Linked DNA regions of Homo sapiens: regions 1 and 2 are each linked to region 3. Evidence: promoter capture Hi-C in 16 types of primary human blood cells and fetal thymus (Javierre and others, 2016). All regions are on one chromosome and are shown on one strand. The core of a region is centred on a gene start or on the middle of the fragment in contact, and the rest is flanking DNA. Distances in the headings are between cores, read along the strand shown. Region 1 holds the start of PLEKHA2 (pleckstrin homology domain containing A2). Region 2 has its middle 12 kb from the start of TACC1. Region 3 holds the start of ERLIN2 (ER lipid raft associated 2).

The links. The method cuts DNA at HindIII sites, captures the fragments that hold promoters and counts their contacts. A CHiCAGO score of 5 or more calls a contact.
Region 1: the fragment with the promoter of PLEKHA2 here is called in contact with the fragment with the promoter of ERLIN2 in region 3 in 5 of 17 cell types (naive CD8 T cells, total CD4 T cells, naive CD4 T cells and 2 more); the score reaches 8.8 in naive CD8 T cells.
Region 2: a fragment that was not itself captured here is called in contact with the fragment with the promoter of ERLIN2 in region 3 in 1 of 17 cell types (activated CD4 T cells); the score reaches 6.1 in activated CD4 T cells.

What each region holds. Positions count from the first base shown.
Region 1 is chr8:38,899,796-38,903,366 of GRCh38, forward strand. It overlaps PLEKHA2 (pleckstrin homology domain containing A2), which reads left to right and starts at 1,551. Exons shown (of 12, transcript NM_021623.2): 1 at 1,551-1,650. LOC124901937 (a long non-coding RNA gene) reads right to left here and starts at 1,650. Exons shown (of 2, transcript XR_007060893.1): 1 at 1,418-1,650; 2 at 1-901. RefSeq lists enhancers at 1-152, 213-462 and silencers at 1,063-1,472, 1,553-2,222. The HindIII fragment of the contact is 6,068 bases long and covers 1-3,099 here.
Region 2 is chr8:38,773,762-38,777,492 of GRCh38, forward strand. It overlaps a transcript of TACC1 not described here. Among named protein-coding and RNA genes, the nearest start is that of TACC1, 12 kb to the right of the region's middle. The HindIII fragment of the contact is 2,473 bases long and covers 631-3,103 here.
Region 3 is chr8:37,734,252-37,738,285 of GRCh38, forward strand. It overlaps ERLIN2 (ER lipid raft associated 2), which reads left to right and starts at 2,383. Exons shown (of 12, transcript NM_007175.8): 1 at 2,383-2,427; 2 at 3,657-3,778. The coding sequence starts at 3,672. It overlaps LOC102723701 (a long non-coding RNA gene), which reads right to left and starts at 3,175. Exons shown (of 2, transcript NR_125821.1): 1 at 3,128-3,175; 2 at 510-2,547. RefSeq lists enhancers at 2,256-2,465, 2,945-3,737. The HindIII fragment of the contact is 8,102 bases long and covers 1-4,034 here.

The DNA.
Region 1 (3,571 bases), core at 301-2,800, 1.2 Mb after region 3:
TTTTTCACACCTGAGACACCGGCGGTGTTCATTTTTGCTTTGGCAATCAAAATGGAAGAGGAAACTTGTGTGGTTTCATCACTGGTGCTTTCGGGGTGTGTGGGGCGGGCTGTCCTTCTCCCTCGGTCCTGGCTCATCGGCCCGAGCCCCCCTCCCCAGGCCTTGTGGCCTCCGGTCGGTCGTGGAGACATAAGAGGCCGCCTTTCCTCTGTTAACACCGGGAATGTGCCCCAGCCTCTCCCTCCTTCCTGCAAATCCAGTCCTTGTCCTGGAGAACCTCAGCGTCTTCTTATGCCTGCCTCTTTCAAAGCCTCGTAGGATTTACACCTGATTAACAACGTTTGCATTAGGATCGCCAGACACCGGCGCACGGCCCCGCAGGCCCGCGCGAATCTTCTACATTTTCATGTTTCGGATGTTGTCCACCTGACTTGATGCATATTCAAATGTCTCTCTCCCGACGTGGGAGGCCGGAGTCAGAACCTGACAGACCTGCCGTTTACTAACTGGGTACCCAGGGCAAATTACTTCACAAGTCTGAGTCTCGGTTTCCTCACCGTGAACCGGACTGGTACCCATAGGTTGCGGCGTGGATCAAATGAGATAGCGCAGGGGCGGGACCCGCGCACAGCAGCTCTCTTAGTTCCTCTTGGCGAGGTTTACGTAGTAACACATGCTTGTCTGTTTCCCATTTTTTCCCAGAGCACCCTCATGCTCTGGGGGCAGGAAGGGAGTCTTCGCATCACACCGAAAAAGTCCCAACGGGCACGGTGTAGGCGCCTGTGGTCCCAGCTACTCGGGAGGCTGGGGCAGAAGGATCGCTGGACCCAGGAGGTCGAGGCTGCAGTGAGCTATGACTGCGCCACCGCACTCCAGCCTGGGCGACAGAGCCAGACCCTGTCTTGATTAAAAAATAAAATAAAATAAAGAAATTAAAGTCCTTATAACCCTGGTTAGAGCGTTCCCGCCCACTGGTCTCTTAGGGCACATTTAGGACAACCTGAAGAAGCCACTCTTCTTGGGACCCTAACCCTTACCCCAACTCCTCGGTCCCCAAAGGCTAAGGGCTCGGGATCCGAAGGAGGCCCAGCTGAGGTCGCTGGGTGGGGCTCTGGGAGGAGGAAATGGGGTTCTTGAGGGAGCTCGCGCTCCAGCTCGCCTCCTCCTGCGAGGACGCCCCCTGCCCGGACACCTGCTGCCCGAGCGAGCGTCGGGGCCGGGCCTCCCCGCGGGGCAGTCTCGGCGCGCAGGTCCCACCTGCCAGGCGCGGAACGCGGGCGGCCTCGGGCGCAGCCTCCGGGCGCCCCGCCCCCGCCTCCCCCGCGCGGCCCCGGCGCCCGGCCGCACCCCCTCCCAGCCCGCGGCGCCCCGGCACCCCTCTCCCTCCCCGGCGGGCTCCGCGGAGCATTGTACTCACATCCGGGGCTGGGTTTTGCTTTAATGCGAAACGTAATTAACCCGGAAAAAAGAGCCGAGGGACGGGAGAGAAGGAGGGGGCACTGGGGGAGACCAGAGCGAGGGGAGCGAGAGGCGCGGAGAGTTTGGCAGGCAGACCCAGAAATCCCTGGAGCGCGGCGGACCCGGCGGCCGGAGGGGCGACCCCGCCCGATGTAACGCGCCCCGCCCGAGCCCCGGCCCCTGCACGGGGGGGTAAGTTGGGCGCCCTCGCGGGCTCGGGAGTGGAGAGGCGCAGAGGGGCGCGCGGGGGCTGGCGGGGCTGGGGGTGCAGGGGGCGCCCCGGCGGAGGCCTGGCGGCCTAGGGGCGCGAGGGGCGCGCGCGCAGGGCTGAATACGCCGGTCCTAGTGGCTGACAGGCGAGGGGAGGTGGCCGCAGACCCTGGAGGCCTCCTCCAACCCTCTGGGAGAGCCCCGAGGGCAGCCCCTCCTCCAAGTGCCCCGGGTGGCCAAGGTCGCCGCCGCCAGGGGTCGGGCTGCGGGGGGTGGGGCCGCGGAGAGGGTGGGGGCGGGAGTTCTGCTGAGCTGCATTTTCTCACGTTTGCAGCAGCGAAACTTCTCTGCGGGTTCTGGCGCTGGGGCACCGACCCCGCAACGACTGCCCGGGCTGCGGGAGGGGAGGAGAGCAGAGAACGTCCCCAGGCAAGTCCCTTGGGTACGGATTGGGCCATGGAGACTCCTCTTTCACTCCCCCGACTACCTTATTAAATGACAGGCCTAGAAGGCTCCCCTAGGGACTCCTGTCCTTTCCTCTGGGTGCAGCCTGGACTTCGGGCTTCTGGAACTCCAGACAGTGAAAAGGACTGCCCTAAAATGCAGGTTCGGTGCCAGGTTGGGTGAGCCCTCGAGGGGAGCTGTCGTTCTCTCTCTCACCAACTTCTTCCTCACCTTACACGCTTCCCTTTTCTCCTCCAGTCCTAAAGACGATTTCACCAAAATTTTTTTAAAAAGAAAGAGAAAAGAAGGGTGTGGGGGGGGGTGGTGGGAAGCTAGGCCGTTTAGAAGGGAAAAGTGTCCCTGCACGCCCAGAGAGGGGCGCAGGGCCCGCTGCGGCCGGAGCACCCTCACATCTCCTCCCCGGGGCCAGCCCTGCCCCCAGGCCCTAGCCTTAGGGTTTGGCTTCCTTCCTTCTTGGTGAACGCAGGTTCAGGATGTATCTTCCCCTTCTCATTCCTTCTTCCTGCCCGCCCCCTTTCTTTCTTTAGGGCTCCAAGTGGGGTTTTCAGAGGACAGTAAACGGCAGAGAAGAGGGAGGGGAGAGCACCCCACCAGAAAGCCAGCTGTGGCTCTGGGGGCTCTGAAGGCTGAGCTGTAGATGCACTTGGGGCTGAAGTCCCAAGATTGCACTAATGGTGTTCTTAATCTATCTGACCAAGTCCCATTTTCCCTTCTTTTGTCATTTTTTTTCTTTGGTTGCGAAGCCTTCCGAAACAGCAAAGCAAAAGATCTTGAAAGAATAGAAGTTTTTGCTTTCTATTTCAGTTGCATTCAGTTGACATGTATTATACATGCAAGGCAGTGATGAACAAAACACAACCCCTGTCTTTATTTTTTCTTTTTCCTTTACCTCTGGAGGGCTGGACCCTGTCTTTGGCGAGCTTACAGGACTTGTAAGCCCCCCACTTGTTTTGAGAAGCCAGAGTAAGCTTTTAGAAAGCATCATCATCATCTCAGACATTAGCCCTCTTCACCATGTGCCGCCTGAAGGCAGATGACTTTTGCACTATCAGAGGTCTAGCTTGTAGTCTAGATTATGGCCAGCCCAACGTATGACATGTACCAGGTGCTAAGTAAATGTTTATTGCATTAATGAATGAATGCAAACACATGAATTGTTTGCACTTGTCCAAATGGCAGAGAAAAGAGCAGTGTGGTTGTTCCTCAAACCTGTAGGGATTTGGTTCTCCAAGCTGGTACATGGGAGTTATTAGTCCGGATGTTGCCTTTACACCTAAGTATCCTTTGACCCTGTTTGTACATTACAGCATGCTTTCTACAAATTGTCTATGGCACTCCTAGTGGGGTTTTAGCTAGCTGGTAATGGGAGCCTTGCTCATTTCACAGATTGGTAATTACCTTGGTATTGATTGAGAAACTGCCTGCCCTTTGGTGAAGA
Region 2 (3,731 bases), core at 617-3,116, 1.0 Mb after region 3:
TAGTAGGGAAAGACAGATTATAAATATTAATAGAAAAACATAAATATTTCAATTCCAGATGTAAAAAGTACTTTGAAAAAGAGGGAAAAAAGGGTATATCTAGCTCACCAACATTTTAACAGTGGCTATTTATGAAAGACAATACTATGGGCAGGTTTTTCTTTCTTCTTTGAACTGCCTATGTAGTCAAAAATTCACTTTTTCAGAGACAAGGATGCTTAACATGGTCTTCTAGGCTGTCATGCCTTGTGCCTCTCCCACTTCACCAGCCTAAGCCCCTCTCCTCCCTCCAGCAGCTGCTCTTCAACCACGCTTACTCAAAACTGGAGGCTGCTTCTGTCCTTAGTGTCTTGATGAAGGAACGCTGTTACCCTACACTTCACCCAGGCAGCTTCTGCCTATCCCTGAGGCTTCAGTCTGTCACTCCTTCAGAGCAACCTCCCTTGACATCTCCACCGATGCCGTCCACCAGCCATTCTCAGAGCCCCCTGCAGTTCTTATATTTCATACATGACAATTTATATATTACATATTTATTTGTTGGCTTACTAAGCTCACTAATATGCAAGTTCTATGAGGGCAGGAACTGGGTCTCTTTTGTTCAACACAGTGTTCAGCAGAGGCTGGCAAAGCTTGGTCATTTGTCAAATTTGTGGAATGAATGAATGAATGAATGAATGAATGAACATATGTATTATTTTGCCTTAAACACTAAAGGTATTTAAAAATACATTTTTTATTATTGTTTTGAGACAGAGTCTCACTCTATAGCCCAGGCTGAAGTGCAGTGGTAGCATCACAGCTCACTGCAACCTTGAATTCCTGGGCTCAAATGATCCTCCCATCTTGGCCTCCCAAGTAGCTAGGACTACAGGTGTGCATTGCCACACCAGGCTAATTTTTTTTTGTTTTTGTTTTTGAAGGGATGGGGTCTCACTATGTTGCCTAGGCTATAAAAATATTTTTAAAGGCCAGCCACGGTGGCTCACGCCTGTAATCCCAGCACTTTGGGAGGCCGAGGCGGGCGGATCACGAGGTCAGGAGTTCGAGACCAGCCTGTCCAACATGGTGAAACCCCCTCTCTACTAAAAATACAAAAATTAGCTGGGCATGGTGGCACATGCATGTAATCCCAGCTACTCGGGAGGCTGAAGCAGGAGAATCGCTTGAACCCCAGAGGCAGAGGTTGCAGTGAGCGAAGATCGCACCACTGCACTCCAGCCTGGGTGACACGGTGAGACTCCGTCTCAAAAAAAAAAAAAAAAAAATGAAAACCAAAAACTTTTAAAACAAAGTACAAGACTATTTGTATGTATTTGCTTTATAAAACAATTTACAGTGCCTTTTAAAATGAGGTGAATTTTGGGGAGAAGTCATATCTCTATTATACATACCAAGTGGGCATATCTTTTGGGGCTGGGGGGAAACTCCAGAATTCATACCTTCATACCTTCCTTGCAAGGGTTATGAATCCTAGTTGTGCACTTTGGTGCCTGAGTAAACCTTCTTCCAAAAAGAATGATATTCGACCCAGTGATCTTTGGCAAAGGTCCTTTCCAGCTAAAAATTTCTGTGGTTCTATGAGATCTGAGATGGATGCTTAGGTTAGGAGTCAGTGATTATCTTAGTCTGTTAAGGCTACTATAAGGATATAATTGCCTGGGTGGTTTATAAACCAGTCATTTATTTCTGGAAGTTCTGGAGGATGGAGGTCCCCATGATTAAGGGACCAGCAGATTCCACATCTGGTGAAGGCTGACCTCCTGGATGTCTTCTCCCTGTGTCCTCATTTGGCAGAAGAAGGGAGAGGGAGCTGTCTGGGGTCTCTTTTATAAGGGCGCTGACCCCAGGAAGAACCCTCATGACCTAATCACCTCCCAAAGGCCCCACTTCTTAATATTCTCACATTGGAGTTTAGGTTTTAACCTATGAATTTTGGGGGGATATAAACAGTCAGTCTGTAGCAGTGATTTATCATTTGTTCAGAAAATAATGTAAAACAAATATATTCTGCTCAGTGTCTATGCCTTGGCCAAAGGAAACAGAAAACACATAAGATATTCCTATATCATACATGATGAGGTACAGGGAAGACCGGTAAGGATAAACTCGCTCTTGCTTGTCATAGTTCTATAAAATAATACAACAAAATAACTTGACTAATTGAGCCCATAAGAAAACAATTTCTAAAAATATTTTGTGTGTGTGCTAGAAATCGTCACTAGCACCAGTTAGTGTTGAAGCCAAAGAACAATGATTAATTCACTTATAGGATTTGGGTCAGTTATTATTTATTATTGTTATTATTTATCCTTAGAATTGGGCAAATATTGGAGTTATACAATCATATTATTTCAAGGAAATCTCCCCAAAGAAAATAATAACCTTCATCAATATGTAAATCCATTCTACTTGGCCTTTGTGAAATCTAAATATTGACTCCCTCCTTCTTCAACGTTTTTGTCCACATCAGTCATCTTTAAAAATGCAACTGCCTAATTTCTAGAAAGTCAGTATCACAGCTCAAGTCATTACGGCAGAAGGAAGGGTAGTCTCAGTCCTGTTTTTAGGATAATTAGGACATCATCCACGGGGCAGGCTTGAGTCTTTTGGTTCGGGAATTTTCTGCCCTGAGAAAAGACATCATTGAGATACAGGTAGAGTGTTCCTTATCCAAAATGCTTAGGACCAGAAGTGTTTCAGATTTTAGATTTTGGAATATTTGCATATACATAATGAGATAGCTTGGGGATGGGACCCAAGTCTAAACATGAGATTCATTATGTTTCATATACACCTTCTACACATAGCCTGAAGGTAATTTTAAACAGCAGTTGTAATAATTTTGTGCATGAAACAAAGTTTTGACTGTGTTTTGACTGTGACTGGCCACATGAAATTAGGTGTGGAATTTTCCACTGTGGTGTCATGTTGACAAGCAAAACGTTTTGGATTTTAGATTGTTGGATTAGGGATGCTCAACCTGTGTAGATTTATCATTTTTAAAAATGCTTCCATCTTTGAAGGAACTTTCATGTAATCCTGTTCAGAAGAATGTAGAACGAAATTTAAGGCAGGTTCTTCCCATACCTTCATCTAAGGAAGCTTAGATGCTGAAATCCCCCAGAGGAGGTTGTAATGTGAGGGTGGAGATGAGGCTGCTGTTACAAAGGGGCCCAGTGACACAGTCTGATAAAGAAGATAGACTTTTAGGCTGGGCACGGTGGCTCACGCCTGTAATTCCAGCACTTTGGGAGGCTGAGGCAGGCGGACCACCTGAGGTCAGGAGTTCGATACCAGCCTGGCCAACATGGTGAAACCCCATGTCTACTAAAAATACAAAAATCAGCTGGGTGTGGTGGCACGAGCCTGTAATCCCAGCCACTCTGGAGGCTGAGACAGGAGAATTGCTTGAACCCGGGAGGCAGAGGTTGCAGTGAGCCGAGATCACGCCACTGCACTTCAGCCTGGGCAACAGAGTGAGACTCCATCTCAAAAAAAAAAAAAAAAGAGAAGATAGACTTTTCTCTCTCATGGAACAGTCCTCAGGCAGCAATTAGTCTAGGGCCGCAGGCTGCTCTGCTCCCCAGTCAGCCTGGTGCGGGTTCTGTCTGTTCTGTGGCTCTATCCTGTCCAGAGTGTGGTCCTCACACAGCAGAAGTTGTGACACGCAGTTCACAACTTTTCGGCCGGGAGAGGCTGGACATGCAGTTTTCTTTTTAAAGACATTG
Region 3 (4,034 bases), core at 1,133-3,632:
ATCACTTGAGGTCAGGAGTTCAATACCAGCCTGACCAACGTGGTGAAACCCCATCTCTACTAAAAATACAAAAATTAGCCAGTCGTGGTGGCATGCGTCTGTAGCCCCAGCTACTCGGGAGGCTGAGGCAGGAGAATCGCTTGAAGGGAGGCAAAGGTTGCAGAGCTGAGATCGCGCCACTGCAGTCCAGCCTGGGTGACAGAGCGAGACAGGAAGGAAGGAAGGAAGGAAGGAAGGAAGGAAGGAAGGAAGGAAGGAAGGAAGGAGAAAAAGAAATTGTAAACATTTTTGTTAAACAAATCATCACAAATGTATCTGCTGGGTAACATAAAAATCACAGGTCTCTTAAGAAAGAGATTTTCAGAAGTACTAGATCATCATGTACTAGCACATCACGAAGTCCATCCCCCTGCCTTTAGGCACGTCCACAACTAAATAACTCAGGTCTGGTAAAATGACTCCTAAGAACAAAATCCCAAAACTTCTAGCCACAATTCACTCCAAAGTTTAATGTGAGGAAATTTTTGTGTTTTTATTATTTTTAATTGACACATAATAATATACATATTTGTGGGAAGGGGAGGGGAGACGGGTTGCCAGAGGTTGGTTAAAGGAAATTCTTAAATTACAAGTAATTTAAATACTTGATGCTGCAGGCTAGCCCCCATTTCATGGGTTGATGAACCCTAATATTTCCATTTTTCTTACTCAATTATTAAATAAACTATTAAATAAGCATGCCCAGCTGAGGTTATATCACTGAACAGGGAGAGAAAAAACTCAAGTTCTGATAGGATTGATCGAGAGATTGGCCAGCTGTGTCTGTTTGGGGTGGGGGATGCAGGGACAGAGTAGGGAGATGAAAGGCCTTCATTTATGGAGATGGGCACAGAGCTCCCAGACAGCACCATGTAACCCTCGTATGGGTTTCACCATGTAATGCTGAAACATCCCAACACCCAGAGCAAACGCAGGAAAGGTAAACGGGCCAATCCCAAGCAGGCATGCCTGGAAAAAACCACACTTCCCTTTTCCTGAGTCTTAAATCTGTCTAACACCACCAGCTTGCCATCTTCCCGGTGTAAAAGTTTTTCTTTTACTGAAGGCTATAATTAAGTGGACTCTTTCTCTCCTGCAAACAAAATATTAATAACCTCAGTGGCTGAATTAGAAATGCCCCAATGTGATGCTGGTGAATAGGGCAGGTGGAGGACAACGTGAGGCCCTTAGACTAGGAGACACAAACTCTGGATTCCGGGCCTGGTCCCACGTTGCCTTCAGTCTGTTTTTACTGGGCACCTAAGCCCCGGGGGTGCGGAAGGAAAGTCAGTCTCTGCTCTCCCGGGAACGTACAGTTTATCTAGAAAGACGAAGTGCACTAGCCCCTGTGCACTGTGGCAGGAGTTTAAAAAGCAGTGAACTCAAGATATTAAGGAAACACAAAGGAAACTTTCCTTGGCTTTTACCCTTGAACCTCGCTGAACTTCTTAGATTCCGTTCATTAAAATTAGAATAATAATTCCTTGTTAATATACTTTGTGGCGTTGCAGGATCCCAAGGGCCAAAGCTCCCAGAAAAATATAAAGAACAACTCAAGGTAGGGATTTTTGATTGGTGAGGTAATGATGCTAATCTGTACATTGAAAAGACTGTTTCATTTCAGCTGTGCTATAGGAAAGCAAACAGTTGCAACTCGCCAGTACCTTATCAAGGAGAGAAAAAAAAAAAGGCCGCGCATGGTGGCTCATGCCTGTAATCCCAGCAGTTTGGGAGGCCGAGGCAGGAGGATTGCTTGAAGCCAGAGTTTGAGACCAGAAATACCAAGACCCTGTCTTTACTAAAAATAAAATTGTCAAGTGTCGTGGCGTGCGCCTGTGGTCCCAGCTACTCAGCAGGGTGAGGTGGGAGGATCGCTTAAGCCCAGGAGTTCGAGGCTGTAGTGAGCTATGATCGTGCCACTGCACTCCAGCCTGGGCAAAAGAGCGAGACCTTGTCTCTAAAAAAACCAAAACGAACCAGGTTCGGCCTAATGCAGAAGGAAATCCGGAGCAATCCCCAAAGTCAACGCCTTGGAAAGGTTCGCCCTGGGTCTCAGTACTCCGGGGCATGCGCGTCCTGCCGCTCGCTCTCGGGGAGCTCCCACCAACACCGCCCTCATCCCCAGCCCCAGGACGGATACCCAAGACCGAGGTCCAGGACCGCACCGACCAAGTCGCGGGCGATCCCTGGCGGCCAGCTACGGCCATTGACCGCTGGGAGCGCGAGGGGCGGGGCGCAGAGCGAGCGCGGGGCGGGGGTGTGGTCTTCTCGCGTGAATTGATGGCGTCATCGAAGCGACGGCCCGGAAGGAAGTCGCGTGCTGAGGGGTGTGACGGTTTTCTTGCTCGTGGGCTCGGACGAGTACGGAGCGCCTGCAGGGACAGCCTGGTACGCGGCCCCCGCCCCTTCGTGCGCGCGCTGGGCCTAGCTGCCGCTCAGGGTCGGGGCTGACCCGTCACTTTCGGGAACCTCAGTCCCAGCAGCTTCTCTCCCTCAGCCGGCCCGCTCCTGGAGAGAGACAGAAACCCTTTTCTGTCGCGTCCTCTCCTTGCGAGCCGCAGGGGGACCGAGCGGAGGCTATTGGAGCCGCAGCCCCAGACCAGGGCGCTTGACCCTCTCTCGGAACGGGGCGGGGAAGGGGCGCGAGTGACCTCGGGGAGGGAAGGGCACTGGCAGGAAAGGACGCAACTGCAGATCGGTAGCCGGAGGCCGCCACGGTAAAATAAGCGCCTCGCAGATGTCCGCGCCCCGGTTACGTTAGACCTGGGAGGCAGAATCCACGCCCTGCGCTCACGGGCCCACGCACGCACAGCTGAACTTTGCAGTCAGTCACCATAGTTCCAGATCATTCAGCGTTCAGGATCCCACTCCTCCGCGTCCTGGTGCCTGAACGCGGTTGGACCTAGGAGCCTAGAGGCTCGCAGTTTGGGACATTGCCTTTCTCTCTGACCACGGGCTTGGGGATCTGTCAGGTGCAAAGTGCCAAAGTATATGGGGGGGAGTGTGGCTTCAGGCTTGTTCAGAGCCCTGTCCTGTTTAGGGCCAAAGGAATAACTGGGAAGGTGGATGCGAGGCCAACGAATCCTACCTTGAAACTCTGCTCGCCTGCTGGCTCTGCCACTCCAGCATCTGAAAGGAGTAAATAATGGTTTCCTTTGAAACTGCAGGCAATTAGGAGTGGGAGACTCTGACCAGAATTACATAGCCACAACTGCCTGTCATTTGGCATCCTCTGTAATTTGGGCCAAAGTACTGCAGCTGCCTCTCTTCCCTACTACTGGTAGGAAAGGTTCAGTGACAGCACATTCGTGTTCACAGGAAGACAAGGCTGTGTTCTGAACCCTACCCAGCTGGCACGGGTTCTCCCTTGAGCAACGGCTGTATCCGGAGCCAGTGCTTCCTCAGTGCGGTGGGGGCTCTAATTTTACAGTTAAAGAAAGGGGAACGTTGACTGAGAACGAGGAGGAAGCGAGTTGTAGATCTAGCCTTGTGTTCACACGACACCAGGCTGGATATGAGTCACTCGCAGGGAGCTCAGCTTGGTGAGGTCCTCTCGCTGTTGTGGCCTTTTCTCCTGCACGTTGGACCACACACATTTTCCCGTGTCTTTTCCCTAGGATAAAGGCTCACTGATGGCTCAGTTGGGAGCAGTTGTGGCTGTGGCTTCCAGTTTCTTTTGTGCATCTCTCTTCTCAGCTGTGCACAAGATAGAAGAGGGACATATTGGGGTATATTACAGGTAAGGCAGAGACAGGGAGAAGCCGGCAACTTCCTGTTAAATAGCTCCCTTTCCTGGTCATTGCTTTCCTAGCAGATTCTGCTGAACATCTCTATTTATATTTCCTTGAATAGGGGAGCCTTTTCAGATGGAGCTTTTTATGTCAGTAACCACGGGAAAGAGAATACACACACACACATATATATGTAAATTTAGAACTTCACTTAGTAGTCCAAGATGATGCCATGGGTGGTGATTAATAAATGTGTATATAGAT